Linked DNA regions of Homo sapiens: region 1 is linked to region 2. The links are contacts of gene promoters, found by promoter capture Hi-C in blood cells and fetal thymus (Javierre and others, 2016). All regions are on one chromosome and are shown on one strand. The core of a region is centred on a gene start or on the middle of the fragment in contact, and the rest is flanking DNA. Distances in the headings are between cores, read along the strand shown. Region 1 overlaps ASCL5 (achaete-scute family bHLH transcription factor 5). Region 2 holds the start of KIF21B (kinesin family member 21B).

Region 1 (4,668 bases), core at 1,440-3,939, 98 kb after region 2:
TAAGTCACTTTTTAAAGGCCCACTGTTAGGAATTCATGAACTAATAAAGGTTAATCCACCACCTCAGTTTCCCACCTCTTCCCTCAGTATTTCTACTAGTGGCTTCTCATCTGATCAAAGGAACAGAGAGGTTTACACTGACCTAACAAAAGGATCTTAGTAAATTATTCCTGCTGGAGAGGAATTACAATTATAATGATAATTCCTGGAGGGGATGTCCCGCTGAAGATTCCAATTATAATGCTGTTATTTAGCTTCTGCTAAGAGAAGAACTAAAGGTCACCCCGGTCATCTTTTGGGAGGGTAGCACCCCCTTGAAGATGTGTTTGGAGGGTGGCCCATGGAGTTCTGCTGCTGGGAAGATACAGACTGGAGTATCATCAGACTGAGTCAAGCAGCAGGAGCCCCCTTGCCTGAGCTTAGAAAACCTGAGCAAAGGCCCCAGGAGGATCTATCAGTAGCAGGGAACCTACTCATCGGCTAAGTTCATGGGACTGGGCAGAACCAGCTATCAATAGCGCCACGGTGTGGTGGTGAGACGCAGTGGCGGCAACAGATTGATGAAATTCGCATCCCGACCCCACGGGTGTCGAAGTCATCACTTCCTGTGACAGCTCCCTTTGGGGACTGTGGGTCCCTAGGTCTCCTGGAAAATTCAGGGTAAGAGAAGACCCCTTAGGAAAAGCTACTGAGTTTTCTGTCAACATCTACTAATTTTCTCCCTGTGTTTGTGAAGCAATTCGTATCACTTAAACTTTCACTATGTACACATACATAAAATATGTATTAATACAATTAGATGTATTTTGTTGTTTTGAATTAAAAATAGCAGTTGCATCAGCATTAGGCAACTTACTAGATAAAAATGTGACTCTGAAACAGTGGAAGAGCTTTTCCTCTACTCTTAGCCCCCATGGTGACTGCTGAAAGAGCTAGTTGAGTGAACCCATTGATTGCATTGAGTAGGCACAGACTATTAGTTGCAGGCAATGCTGTCCACCTTTTTAAGGGGCCCTGGTTCCTCTCTGGGACCAGAGCCACTCCTTGCCCTCAGCAACCCCATTCATTACCAGCTGTACTCTAGTTTACTTTGCCCTGGGAAGCAGCCGAGCAGATGTGCTTGGCAGGAAGTAACTGCTGTTCCTCCCCAGAGCTTTCTTCGTGGTGCAAGCTACACTGAGCTGTTAGGCCTGCAGTCTACGCTCAGTTGTACCATGTACAGTTAGTTTGTTTAGGGCCAGCTATCATCAATTATTGTGCAAAGAACTTTCTAATCCTCAAATCTGACTTGCACCAGAGAGGGCGTATTGTCAGCGGGGGTCTCCTGGGCCTCCTTTGCAATACCTTGCCAATTCTAATTGTGTAGCACTAGTGTTTGCCCCACCAATATTAGCCCCTTGTTGTCCCTATTGCCAGAGGATCTCACTGTCCACACCCCTGGGGATGGCACATTATCATAACTTGCTGTTAATGGTTTCATACTCATCCCCTGCCCATCTCTCCCAGGCCTCTCCCTGGTGCTCAATGTTCACCAGGGCCCTGTCTCCCCACCCTCCTCAGCCTTATACTCTGCATGGGCAACAGGCAACCTGAGGGCCCTCTCCCCAGGGCTCTTCCTGTCACTGCCCCCAACCCAGGCTGTAAACTGTGAGCCCAAGAACTCTGGTCTTATCCTTCTTTGAGACACACAGTACACGCTCAGTTAAGTGTTTGTTGATTGACACTGGTGGGAAGCCCTGGGGAGGCAAAGGCAGATGTGAACTTTGAAGAAGCAGACAACATAATTCTACCTTTCAGGCTTTCCTCATTGTCTTTAGCAGGACTGGAACCAGAGTTGGGGGTCTGAGGTCAGGAATTGGCTGAACATGTCTCTTTCAACAGGGAACCCATGGCTCTGAAGGAAGTATTGGGGAAAGTGATTCCATAGTCTTCTTCTTCTCCTACCACTCTGAGAGATTTCTGAGAGTTGACCAGTCCATAATGCTGCTTTTGGGCAGCAACAGGGAGACTGCTTCCATAGCCTCCCCTCTACCCACTGCCGCCAAAAACTGGGAACATTTGTAAGGAAGCCCCAAGGACTCAGAATGACAGAACTCATTAGCTTTGTGGAATCCTCACTCATTCCCCTGCCTCCAGGCAAGGTGGTTGCTAAAACCTTTCCCCTAAGGGCTGCATAATTTGAGAAATGCAGCTCCCCGCATTTCCCTCCTTGGATACCCACATTAGCGTTGGCCCTTGGAGGGCATGTTAGCATCAGAGGCCCTGGGAAGCCCTGCAGGTAAAGAAACCTGTTTGTATTTAACCCCCAAATTCCCAATGGAACCACAGAACACTTAAAAAATGGTCTTAAGCCCACTAACATCAAATAGAATACACTTCAGGAAATTCTGCCTTTAAATCTTCAGGGTAAATGTATTTTTTTAAGAAACAAATAGGGGCTGGTGTGTGGCTCACACCTGTAATCCCAGCACTTTCGGAGGCCGAGGTGGGGGGATCGCTTGAGCCCAGGAATTTGTGACCAGCTTGGGAACCTTGTGCTTCTAGTCTTGTTTAAGTCTTACTCACCGCTACATTTTCCTTTAGGAATTCAGTTTTGTGTGTGGTTTCCAATAGGGTTCTGTTTTAATTTTGTAGACCAATAATTAGCAGTGTCGATTTATTTAGCATTCATTAAGCAGGCCATCTTTTTATCACTAACTTGAAAAAAATCTCTCATTAAATATTGTATTCATCTTTCATTAGGTTCTGCATACTTTAGTAGAGACCCTATCTCTACTAAAAATAAAAACGGTTAACTGGATGTGGTGATGCATGCCTGTAGTCCCGGCTACTCAGGAGGCTGAGGTGGGAGGATCAGTTGAGCTCAGGAGGTGGAGGCTGCAGTGAGCTGTGATTGCAGCACTGCACCCAGCTGGGTGACAGACTCAGACCCTGTCTCAAAAAAAAAAACCCCAAAACAACAACAAAAACCCAAATAGGAAATCTTACAATCTCCCTTGGGGGGTCTGTCACATAACCTGTACATATTTCTAGAAGGATAACCTCACCACCCCCACCATATACATAGTGAACACTCCAGACCACATATTCAACATAAGCAATCCTTTCAGAATCTTGACGGGTATAGTTTCAACACTGATGGGAGAAGGGGCAGCCAGGCCCTGTGACCATGAGCCCACATGGCACCTTGCTGGGTTAGAAAATGATGCTTCATGCTCTGGGTGGGTGTTGTGCAGGCGGGATTCCAGCCCCACTTGCCCCCTTAGCCTGCACTGAATGAGGAAGTACTATCCATGGGCCCCAGAGCCTGCTTAGCCCCTCACGCTGCCCTCCACGCCATCCTCCCTGCCTCAGGTTTGGAAACCTCTGTTGCTCCGCAGCAACCTGGCTGCATCCAGTTTCACAAAGAGAAAAGCTCACAGAGCTTTGACATGGGCTGACCAAGCCAAGTCCTCAATGTGGCATCACTTTGCTGAGAGTCTTAAAGAAGAGAAACAGGGTGGAGAAGGATGGGCTCGCGTGGATTAGGTGCCCTCTGATGCTTGGTGCTTTGCGGCGTGCTCTGCTTTCCTTATCCCATGCTATCCTCACACCTGAGAGAAGGTATTACTGTTCCTGTTTACAAAAGAGGAAACAGGCTCAGAGAGGCTAAGAGAGCTGCTCAGGGTCACACAGCCGATTGAATTTACCAGGGTCTCATTGGGTTGATATGAGGACTTTCTTGGCCGGGCAGCGGTCCCCACCTTTTTTATGAGTAATGATTGTTACAGGATCTCCTGGGGGTGGAGCTGGGTGAGGAATTTAGTCCTTCCCAGTTCCCTGAATATAACCAGGCATTTGCAATGCTGTGGAGTTATGGGAAGATGTTCCCAGAGGCAACCACCCCACTGCTAAACCCTGAGCACGGGCTTTAGATTAAACTGGCCGGGATGAATCCTGGCGCTGCTCTTACTGGCTAAGTAGCTTTAGGCCAGTTACTGACTTCTATAAGCCTGTTGCCTCATCTGAAAAGTGAAGGTAATAATACCTACCTTAGAGGTTACTGTAAAGACAAAGGTAATGTATGTGAGCCACGTGGCACCTAAAAGCAATTGAATTAATGGTAGCTCTTATTGCCGTTAAGGGACGGGTGACCTTCAGAAAAGCTCCCAGAAGCTCTAGGACCCTTGGATGTGGCTAAGAGAAGCCCAGGACGGCAGGTGCCCCACCAATATTGTTCCACCAATGCTTACACCCAGTAGCTTCCCACAGTCACATCTGTCCTGAGTCTAAAAGGAAAATTCTATGCATTAAATGTCCGATTTTTCCCCTCCAATCTTTGAATGAAAAGGGTAACTGAATTCAAATAATTCTAATAAATTGAATTTATTCAACCGTGTGTTCTATCGCCTGTCAATCCACCTACCAAATAACATCTCCTGAGCTCCTTCAAGGAATCCTTCTGTGGGCTGGGGACCCAGCAGAGGACAACCTCAACTGCTGCCCTCAGTTTAGTAGAAGAAAAAAGGACTGCATCTTAGTGCCCACACATGCCTAGCACTTACCTATATGCCAGCCGCTGTTCTAAGTGTGCTACAAAACTCTCATTACAGCCTTATGATGTCAGGACTGATGGTATCCCCAACTTACAGATGAGAAGAACAAGGCAAAGAGTGGTTAAGCAAATTG
Region 2 (4,956 bases), core at 2,070-4,569:
TCCTCCCCCAGGTGACTGCCAGTTCTAGTCCAGCCCAGGAAGCTGAGAATCTTTACAGTACAAGGGGATTAATGGATAAAGGGATCACAGGGCAGGCTGGAGAGGCCAGCCTGGGAATCCCTTGGTGCAAAGCCGACTAGCCTGGGTTCAGGGACAGATGGGCCAGATTCCATCTAGCTGGGGAGGCCACAAGGTGGGGCTTTTGGGGTCTGCTCACCCCTGAACTTTCTTCCCTTACCCTGAGCCCCAGGTCCTGAAAGTTTCCTCCTCCGGCTCTCCAGGAGCCCAGGCCTTCACTGAAGCGTTTCACAGCCAGCCAGCTTCGATCTCTTCATCCCAAACAGATTGCAGGGCCAAGAGCCTTAGGCCTGGCACTTCTCACCTAGTCTAATAGCCCTGGGACCTCTCTCCTCTACACACACACACACACACACACACACACACACACAATCAGACCACACCTGTCTCATTCCTGGCCTTCCCTGTCTGAAGAGCTGGACTCCAGGCTCGCTATGTTATTCTCATGGAAATTCAGAAGGCACTTCAGTTGGATTCAAGAAAGGACTTCCAGAAAGTCAGAAAGACAGCTGAACCTGGCAGGAGGTAGTGAGCCCTGGGGCTGGACTAGGCCCTGGACAAGCCTTGCCCTTCCCATAAATGGTCTACTGTAGTGCAGCCCACCACCCAGTCTTTCAGGTGAGAGAAGTGATTTCTGGGGGTGCTGCGGGGGAGGATGGGTAGAAGAGGATCTAAAAACAAGGAAAACTCCCCCTACAGCCCATCACTGGTACCATCTGCTCTCCTTCCCAGCCCAGCCCAGCCCCAGCTCAGTCCTAAGCTCTCTGATTAGAAACTGGGTTCTGTCCAGGCATTGTCTGCTGTACACGGCCGGCTGCCCATTGAGGTCTGGCGTGTGCCGGGGCTGGGCGCTCATGCTGGGGTGGGAGGGGAGGAGTGGGCGGGGCCCTTACCTTCCCGGAGACCCTGAAAGCCTGACTTCTGATGCTCAAATGCCCCACCCCCAATCCAGATCAGCAACTGAAAGGCAAGGCGTGGGGGCACCCAGACCCCACTTAGGGCAATCTGACTGGGAACCAGAGATGACACACATGGTCCTGAACTGGGTGCAGAGGGCAGGCATGATCCCTTCTCTGCAGAAAGGGTCCCGGGAAGCTTCTAGAGGTGGCAGTGGGAAGAGAACATCAGCTTCTCCTCACTGTGCCAATCCCATGAGGCTCCCCGGGTGGGAGTCCCACATCTTTTCAGCCCCAGTCCAGCCTGGAGACCTGAACAGAGGTAGGGGGCCTTTGTTTAGCTCTCTCCAGCAAGATGGAATCTAAAGGAAACCCCCTGTGGAAAGGGCACCCCCAAGCCCCTTCCTTCCCAGCCCTCATTCACAATGGGTGGGGGCCAGAGCTTCATTTCCCTTTTATGGTGTTCTCGGACTCTCCCAATCTGCTGCAGATGCCATATTTACATTTCTCACTCCCACCCCCCAGCCATGCACCCCTCCCTCGACCTCCACAAGATCCTGCTGCAATGTCAGCCCCAGCAGCAGCCTGGCCCCGCCCCAGTCAGCCCACCAGGCACCTGCAGGGCTCCTCTTTGTCTCTGGCTGCTCAGGGCCAGGAAAGCTGTGCTCAAGTGATTCTTGAGTGCTGCCTAGGGTGCATGGGTGGGGGTGCCTCAATCTCCTTCCCTTCACCCAAGCACTGATCAGTGTCAGCTCCTCTTTGGGCTGCAGAGGCCTGGCCAGGTGGCCGTGGCAAGGGGCATCTGCCCTGGGGCAGGAAGAAGAAAGCTTTTTCATTGCCATCTCTGACTCTGTCTAGGAGCAACCTCCTAGGACCCCTGGAATCTGGGTCACATATGACCCAAGGGATCTAGAGACCTGAGAGACCTACCCTAGACCTGGACAATCCCCCGCCCCCTCCATCATACAGGGCTGGGGCAGAGATAGATGTTCTTGCCACATCCCTACCTTGGTGAGCAGCTCCAGATTGGCACTCTGCCGCCAAGACACCCCTCTCAAAGAGAAAAACCCAAAGCAAAAACTGGGAGAAGTGGTGAGGTGTGAAGCATCTCCACCCAGCACAAAGAACACAGATGGCTCAATTTCACAGCATTTCCTGCTCCTGCACCTTTGTGTACCCCTCCCAATAGAACCCACCCAGCCATGTCCTCTCCCTGTCTCATTTCTGCCGGCTCAAGTCCCGGAGCTGTTGAGAATGGAACCCCAGATAAGTCTAGGCAACCCTCCCCTGCTCAATTTTATCTGAGTGCCTGAGGATGGGGCATCTGCATCACACCCTCCTGCCCTCTCAGAGAGAAGCACCTCAGATACACCTCTTCCTCCCTTCCTAGGCCCATCTCCTCTTGGGACAGGACTGGTAGGATTCTCCCCCAAAGCCATTGACTTCCCACAGAAGGCCAAGGCATCATCCCAGCTTTTCCGTTGGTCCCCGCACCCGATCTTTGTCTGCAGATCTGGCTCCCAGGGTGGGTGTGCTGCCTTTGCTAGCTGGACCAAGAGCACATAACTAGCTGACTCGCATGGATGAGGGGAAATTTCCCTCTCTGGTATCCCCGTATGAGACAGCAGCCTCGTGGGGAGGCGAAGAGGAAACGCACAGACGCTCCGGCCTGGGCCAGAGCTGGGTGTGAAATACCGGATTTCCTTGTTTATTCGATTTTCTGATCATTAAGGGCTCCCAAGAGGGGCCCAAAATTACCACCCAAACAAAGCCACCTTCCAGTAGTCGGCGGGGTCGCCGCTCCCCTGCGGCAGACTGGCCAGCGCGCGGCGCCCTCCATCCCGTCCCACGCCGGCCCCTCCTCCGGGAGTGCAGGCTCCAGCCCAAGCGGTGCTCGCGCCCCCCGCCCAAAGCCCACGCGAGACAAAGCCCGAGGCTTCTCCGCGCGCCCCCTTCCCCGCCCCGGGTCCCTACCTGACGGCCACCTTGACGCAGCAGTCCCCCTGGCCGGCCATGGCCCTCTGGAGCTAGGGTCTGGGCGTGGATCAGAGGCGGGGGTCTGGGGGCCAATGCCCGAGGCAGCGGCTGCGGCTGCGGGAGGCGGGGGCGCGGGCGCGGCTGGCGGAGGCTGCGGCGGCGGCGGCTGGAGGTGACATGCTCGCGGGCGGCAGGCCGAGGGGCTCACCCGCGGCCGGCCCCCCGGGGCTGGGCCCGCGCGCCTCCTCGCGCCATCGGGCGGCGGCGCGGAGCTAGCTGACAGCCGGCGGCGCGACCCGCCGCTCCCTACGGCGCGGCACACGCGCACACACCTCCCACCCGGCAGCCACCTCCCGCCGCAGCGCGAACAAAGGGGGCGGGGGCCGATCCGGCCCCGAGCCCGCCCCGAGCCAGCCCCGAGCCCAGGCCGGGCCCCGCCCCGCCCAGGAGCCGCCAATCGAAAGCCCTAATGAGCAGTGGGGGCGGGACTCGCGCCTTTAAAGGGACCTCTTGGCTCGCGGCCACGGGGTGGCTGGGGGTAGGGGGCGGGATTGAAGGGTGGGGGTGGGGGTAGGGGTGGGAGTAGGGGTGGGGGCGCTGGACGCAGACCACGTTAGAACCTCGGCTCCTGGAGTAGCAGAACCTCGGCTTCAATGGGACCCTCATTTCATAAATGAAGAAACTGAGATTCAAAGAGGGGAACTACCGAAGGTTACAGAGCGAGTTCGTGGGTAAGCATGGTAAGAACCCTGGTCTCCCGGGGATCCCACAGCGATTGACGGTTTATAGTTCAAAAGAGCCAGGAAAGCTTCCCTTCTGCATTTATTCCAGTAAATTCGCCAACCCTTCTCGAAGGGAGTTCTTGCTAGCCCCTAACTAAAATTTCCCCCACCTCCACCCTGCAGCATCTTAAAGCTCATGTTTTAGTTGATTCCTGGCCAGGCTCCTAGCCCAAGACTAGCCCCTCCCTACTGCTAGACGACTGTCCCATTGACCTTTATGACCCACAGATGACCCCACTGGGCCTGGCTCACACTCTGCTTGTTGTGGCTGTGGGGCCAGAGGGTCAGTGTGGGAGGCCTGAGCTGCCCTGGGGGAAAGGAGGGAACAAAGGGGGCCCTCAGTTCCGAGCACCTGGGTAGAGAGGCTGGGCGGTGAAGTGGGTGGGGAAGGGAAGGAGGGCAGCTGCCTGCAGGAATGGGTATAAAGGACAAGGAGGACCATGGAGACTTTAACGCTGGGCCTGGATGGAGGAGGAGACCAGTGCTGCAAAGTCACAATTCCCTTCCCAGTCCATCTCCCTCCCTCTGAGCCCAGACGCCTCTTCCCTGCCCCCTGCCTCCCAACATTGGGGCCATTCACAGGGCCCCTCACCAGCTGCCCTCACTTCACCCAGCTCCCTCCCCTGGAAAGGGCCCAAGAGGAGGACCCAGCTGCAGCCCCAGATGTGGATGGGGATCTCTGGGGGAGGGGAGGAAGGGGAGTCTGACTCCAGGCCTCTTACATTACCCTCAGATGATGAAACCATGTCAGAGATTTTGGCAAGGGTGTGGACTGGGGTCTGAGGATGCATCTGTTGGTACCATCTTCCTCCCCTTCCCTCCTCCACTCACACCCCCCTCCCCGCCAATAACTGCTTCATGCAGTAGCTCAGATCCCTGTTTGGCTTGACCTATTAAGGTCAAATCAAAACCAAAGATAATTTCAAGGGCAAATTTCAAGGGCCAATCAACACATCCTTTTCATCCCCATGGCAAACAGGAGGAGCACCGCCAGCAGTGCCCCCATGATGGGGGCTGGAGAAGAGGTCTTGGTGGTATCCTGGACCTTTTATTAGCATTTGAATCTAGAGGAAGCTCTCCCTGGGGCCAGGGGATCACCTCTCCTGGACCAGGAGGTTAGCAGAATGTTGCAGTCATATCCTGCAACATTCCTCCCCATCTTCCAACCAAAATAATTCGTGGGGAGGAGACTAACACATATGGACCACCTACACAAGGTATTT

What was found. Contacts are between HindIII fragments. The CHiCAGO score rates a contact against its expected background, and 5 or more counts as called.
Region 1: a contact is called between a fragment that was not itself captured here and the fragment with the promoter of KIF21B in region 2, in 1 of 17 cell types (naive CD4 T cells). The highest score is 5.4, in naive CD4 T cells.

The regions. Positions count from the first base shown.
Region 1 is chr1:201,118,891-201,123,558 of GRCh38, forward strand. All of the region lies in intron 1 of ASCL5 (achaete-scute family bHLH transcription factor 5), which reads right to left. Among named protein-coding and RNA genes, the nearest start is that of ASCL5, 6.0 kb to the right of the region's middle. The HindIII fragment of the contact is 9,756 bases long and covers 1-4,668 here.
Region 2 is chr1:201,020,395-201,025,350 of GRCh38, forward strand. KIF21B (kinesin family member 21B) reads right to left here and starts at 3,320. Exons shown (of 35, transcript NM_001252102.2): 1 at 2,949-3,320. The coding sequence starts at 2,989. It overlaps LOC101929305 (a long non-coding RNA gene), which reads left to right and starts at 3,555. Exons shown (of 4, transcript NR_188464.1): 1 at 3,555-3,691. RefSeq lists silencers at 697-846, 2,727-2,776, 3,177-3,536, 3,888-4,045 and enhancers at 1,077-1,206, 1,515-2,122. The HindIII fragment of the contact is 1,958 bases long and covers 1,800-3,757 here.